2 separate regions of the Homo sapiens genome follow, and region 1 is linked to region 2. Evidence: promoter capture Hi-C in human tissues and cell types (Jung and others, 2019). All regions are on one chromosome and are shown on one strand. Each heading gives the region's core, a stretch centred on a gene start or on the middle of the fragment in contact. The rest is flanking DNA. Distances are from core to core; before and after follow the strand shown. Region 1 overlaps PML (PML nuclear body scaffold). Region 2 holds the start of ULK3 (unc-51 like kinase 3).

The links. The method cuts DNA at HindIII sites, captures the fragments that hold promoters and counts their contacts. A contact is called where the count stands out against the background at its distance.
Region 1: a fragment that was not itself captured here is called in contact with the fragment with the promoter of ULK3 in region 2 in 1 of the 25 tissues and cell types used here (dorsolateral prefrontal cortex).

What each region holds. Positions count from the first base shown.
Region 1 is chr15:73,998,141-74,000,840 of GRCh38, forward strand. It overlaps PML (PML nuclear body scaffold), which reads left to right. Exons shown (of 9, transcript NM_033238.3): 2 at 1-336. Among named protein-coding and RNA genes, the nearest start is that of PML, 4.8 kb to the left of the region's middle. The HindIII fragment of the contact is 4,698 bases long and covers 1-2,700 here.
Region 2 is chr15:74,841,848-74,844,547 of GRCh38, forward strand. It overlaps ULK3 (unc-51 like kinase 3), which reads right to left and starts at 1,309. Exons shown (of 16, transcript NM_001099436.4): 1 at 1,157-1,309; 2 at 433-573; 3 at 228-348. The coding sequence starts at 1,258. SCAMP2 (secretory carrier membrane protein 2) reads right to left here. Exons shown (of 9, transcript NM_005697.5): 9 at 1,883-2,700. RefSeq lists enhancers at 303-828, 897-1,808 and a silencer at 1,071-1,790. The HindIII fragment of the contact is 11,414 bases long and covers 1-2,700 here.

The DNA.
Region 1 (2,700 bases), core at 188-2,687, 840 kb before region 2:
CATCTGCCAGGCGCCCTGGCCCCTAGGTGCAGACACACCCGCCCTGGATAACGTCTTTTTCGAGAGTCTGCAGCGGCGCCTGTCGGTGTACCGGCAGATTGTGGATGCGCAGGCTGTGTGCACCCGCTGCAAAGAGTCGGCCGACTTCTGGTGCTTTGAGTGCGAGCAGCTCCTCTGCGCCAAGTGCTTCGAGGCACACCAGTGGTTCCTCAAGCACGAGGCCCGGCCCCTAGCAGAGCTGCGCAACCAGTCGGTGCGTGAGTTCCTGGACGGCACCCGCAAGACCAACAACATCTTCTGCTCCAACCCCAACCACCGCACCCCTACGCTGACCAGGTGAGTAGGCCGGCACAGGGTGGGGTGGTGCATCCAAGTACCAGGTAGAGGGCGAGAGGAGCAAAGATCCAAAGAGTCACACAGCTGAGGACAAGGAGCTTCTGGGGCCTTGCAACTCTAAATGTGGTCTGCAGATATGCAGTGTCCGTGTTGATGACCACAATTTATGCTGCCAGTCCCCACGCAGGTGGATAGTAAGTTTCCAGTTTCCTCCTGTAATAAATAATGCTGCAGAATCATCTTTGCATCTTTATCCAGTAACTTCTTTAGGATAAATTTTTAGAAGTGCCACTGCTGGGTGTAGGGGGACGGGAATTCTACATTTGATACATGTTACCAAACTGCCCTTTAGAATTTAGTGGAATTTTCCGAGAGCACTGACACGGAATCTCAGTAAGGCTGGATTCTAGGATCAGAGACAAGTAGTTAGTTTCTGTCTGAAAAGTTGAAACCATTAACACCAGGCAGCGCTATCTGAGAATGTCTGTATGGGGAAAAAAAATCACATCCAGTTGTAATTATTTTTATTAAACAGATTTTAACTCAGTTTTTTAATAGGTAATACATTCGTACAGTTCACGAACAAAATTTGTAAAGAGGAGAGAGAGAGTGCAATCTTCTGTCCATGCCCAACTGCCTAATTCCCACCACTTCTCCCTCTTCCCATCCACAGGTAGCCATTGTTACTAGTTTTGAATGTTTCTTCTGAGAGTTTCTTTACGAATATATATGCAGGTAGGAGCAATCTTATCAGGTCCTATTTTCCCTCTTTTAGCCAAAAAGGTAGCATAACTATGTGAACTTTTCACCATTAGCAATAGATTGTTCATAGAAGGCGCTTCTTGGTTCTTAGAGATCCACTTGCAAAATGAAAGCATTTTTCGCTGGTTTTTGACAACTCAGAACTATATATGGCTAAACCACATATTTGCTGAACTACATATCTGCTAAACTGACTGTGATTTGTTTCCTGCTTTAGGATAAACTTCCCACACTATCAGAATAAGCTTTCCCCTCCGACTCCTCAACAGCTGGTATCACCACGTTTCTTAGCTTATTGTAAAGGTTGAGTGGCTTTCCACTTGTTTATTGGCCATTGTGTTTCTGCATTTGCGAGTGGCCTGTTTAGGTCCTTTGCCTGTTGTTGTTGTTGTTTCCGTTGAGGAATTAAGGGACTAATTAAAGAATTCAGGAACAAATTCCTCGAAAGAAAAAAATGTATGCATTTCTTTTGCTCTTACAATTTATGCAGTTTTAAAACTTACATATTTATTGGATTTTGATTGAAATTGCAATAAATTAGGAGAAATTGGCTTTATCTCTGGTTCTATCTTTTGGATTTAAAAAATTTTTTTTAATTTTTTTTTTTTTTTTTTGAGATGGAGTCTCGCTGTGTCACCCAGGCTGGAGTGCAGTGGCGCGATCTCGGCTCACTGCAACCTCCACCTCCCGGGTTCACGCCATTTTCCTGCCTCAGCCTCCCAAGTAGCTGCGATTACAGGTGCACATCATCATGCCTGGCTAATTTTTTGGCATTTTTAGTAGAGACAGGGTTTCACTATAATGGTCAGGCTGGTCTCCTGACCTCAGGTGATCCACCTGCCTCGGCCTCCCAAAGTTCTGGGATTACAGGCATGAGCCACCATGCCCAGCCTTATACTAATTTCTTAATGAATTTGTAAGCTTTCATGTTTTGAACGTGATAATGCAGCCATCCCACGGGATCCATGGGAGTCTGTTTCAAATTCATAGATGCTCAAGTCTCTGATATAAAATGGCATAGTATTTGTATATAACCTCTACACATCCTCCTGTATACTTTATTTTTTATTTTATTTTTATTTTTTGAGACGGGGTCTTGCTCTGTCGCCCAGGCTGGAGTGCAGTGCTGCACTCGTGGCTCACTGCAGCCTCAATCTCTTGGGTTCAAACAATCCTCCCACCTCAGCCACCAGATTATACAGGACTGCAGGTGTGCACCACCACACTCAGCTAATTTTTAAATTTTTTGTAGAGACAGGGTTTCACGACATTGCCCAGACTGGTCTTGAGAACTCTTGGGCTCAGGCAGCAACCCTCCCTAGGCCTCTCAAAGTGCTGGGATTACAGGTGTGAGCCACTGTACCCATCCCCTCCTGTATACTTTAAGTCATCTCTAGATTACTTATAATGCCTAATACAATGTAAATGCTATGTAAAGAGTTGTTTTACTATATTTTTGAATTTGTATATTTTTTTATTGTGGTACTTTTTTAATTGATTTTTTTTCGCCTGAATATTTTTGATCCAAGATTTGTTGAATCCACGGGTGCGTAACCTGCAGATACTGAGGGCCAACTGTACATATAAATTGTTTAGCGTAGT
Region 2 (2,700 bases), core at 59-2,558:
TTCTATGTATGGAAGCCTGAACACCCCACAGAGGGGTTACCCCCTCATCTCTCCCACAGCGTCCTTGAGCAAGGGTTGAGTGTATGAGATAAACAGGACCATAAAATTTCAGGCTGTGCAGGAGGCAGCTGCAATGCGTGCCAAGGCTCTAAGCCTGGGGGAGGGGTGGGATGGTGGGGGGCAGAGAACAAGGGACAGAGTGTCAGGCTGGTGTCACAGGCCTTTACCTAATTGCTGCATGAAGACACGCGCCACCTTCTCAGGCAGAATCCTGCGGGTATGGATGAAGCGAGACAGGTCGCCCCCTGCGCAAAACTCCATGATGAGGTAGATATTGTCACTGTCCCACTGTGTTTAGAGGCAGAGAGGCGGCCTGAAGAGAGTGTCCCTTCTCCAGCTCCCTTTGGCAGCGGCCCCGCCCCAGGCTCACACCTGAAAGTCTTTCAGCTGCACAATGTGGGGATGTCGAATGCCCTTGAGGATCTCAATCTCCGTGAGGAGGTTCTCCACCGATGCCTTGTTCAGACTTTTCTTGGCTACACACTTTATGGCTACCACTTCACGAGTGTCCTTCTGCGAGACAGGAGATTTGGGGACTCTGCCTTGAGGGGGCCAGGACCCTTGTCTGACTGGAAAGGCTCTATCTGGTTCCCTCTGTTCCCCCACCCCGCCCCTCCCCGGGTCTACCTACTGCACACCAGCACCGGGCTTCCCAGCTTTCCCTTGTGAGGCCAGTGAGGAATGCTGATTCTGGAATCCTGGCTTCCCGACACAGCCTCAGCCTGGTCTTCTCCAACCCTCGGCTAGCTGATCCATTTCTTTGCATTCTGGAGTGCTCCCGGCAGAGGCATGTCACTCAGGGTTCTAGAACCGCCCACTCTGCCTCCCAACTGGCTCCAGTCCCAGACTCCTCCCAGCCCACCAGGTAACCTGTTTTGAGCCTGTTCTTCAGCCACTGACCCTGCAGGTGGGTGCAGGTGCGCTCTTTAAGACCTAAGCGTGGCAGTCGGCTCCAACCTCCGCCGAGGGTCAGCTGGGGCGAGGCCGGCCTCCCGCCCCTAACTATTCCCACACTGTCGCTAACCTCTCAGAGTCTCCCCGGCCGGCACCAGCCGAGCTAGCTCGGGCGGGCACGGGGCCATCGGCCGGCACCCACCTTGGCGTAGGCCTTGTACACCGTGGCGTACGTGCCGCTGCCCAGGCGCTCGGTGAGGATGAAGCCGTCCAGGCGCGGGGGACCCCAGCCGGGCCCCGCCATTCCGGCCGCCTGCGCCCGCGCGGGCGCTTCCTCGCTGCGGGCGGCGGTTCCGGCGGGTTGCGGGGCGGGCCGAGCACTGGGTGGCTCCACGCTGCCCCCAGCGCCGCCCGCCGGAAATGCAGCGCGCATCGGGGACGCGGATCCGCCCGGCTCCCGGCGCCCCTCCCCTGTCTCTGGGCCTCGCCGGGTCACGCGCCCCGCCAGTTCCTGCAGGGCCCACGTGGGGATACGGAGGCCCCGCGAGCCTAGAAGTTAACAACGGAGGACGGCCGGCGTGGTCTCCGGGGACTCCTAGCGGGCGCAGAGGCGTCTAGAGATCGCCCACGTGAGGGCGCGGGCGGCGGAGCGGGCGTGTGTGGGGGCGACGGCGTCCGGGAGGCTCCCAGGGCCCCTCCCCAGGACCCGCAGCTCTGAAAGGAGAGCTACTGGCACGAGAAGGCGCCTTTGGAAGAGGCCGCGTTGGCTTCCCAGGCCTCCCAGCTGCTTTTCACTTTTCTGAGGAAGGGCCTTGACCTATTTATTGCATCTTAACTGTCCCCGCTCTCCAATCTTAGCAGCGGCGCCCAGCCCCTAATCCTGTGGGCTGCCCCGTCCTCCCAAGTCCACCAGACATGTGGACCCGTGTTGTCTGAAAATGTTTTTATTTTTACTTAAGCACAAAAATTGAGACGTAACATATACATTTGTACATAGAGGGGAAAAAATACCAGAAAGGAGTTCATAAAACCCCAGCCGCTGCCAGTATCATTCAGTGGCTGGGGCCTGCGGCTGTCTCGGGCCCAGAGCCGGAGGCTAGTTTTGTGGGAAGGCACCCCAGTCCACACACCCACTCGGCAGCCTCGAGGGACAGGGTGCTGGTTTTAAGGGTGGACTCCTACGTGTCCCATCACAGTGACACACCCCCCAGGGTGTGAACCAGACTCCACTGGGTATTAGGGGGCCCTCCGAGAGATGGCTTATCAGTCCCTGCTGAGGGATGCGGTTCTGGACTGGCTGGCCCTGCCCTTCCTGAAAGTCTGGATGCTGCTGATGGGGAGCATGGGCGGGGCAGGTGGCATCTGAGGCAGAGACAAAGGCAGCCGTCCCTCGGTTCGGGGAGGGGGGGGGGTAGTCACAGCAAACAGGGCCAAACCAACCACACCAGGACAGGCAGACCCCACCCTCCTAGAAGACGCTGGACGCTAGGCAGGACAGCTTGGGGTCAGTGTCCTTGGTCCCTTCCAGTCCCCAAATCCCAACCAACGGCATTGTACATTCAGAAAGTCTGAAGAGAGTAAGGCTCAGCAAGGGGAGGGCTCCAGAGGGCTCAAAGTGCCATCCCCTGCAGGAGGGTGCAGGGGGATAAAGGGCTATTAATCCGTTTCTCAGGAACACGAGGCAGGGAAGAGCTTAAGGCAACCAGCCTTCTCTGGATCCGTTTATGAGGCAGAGAAGAGCTTGAG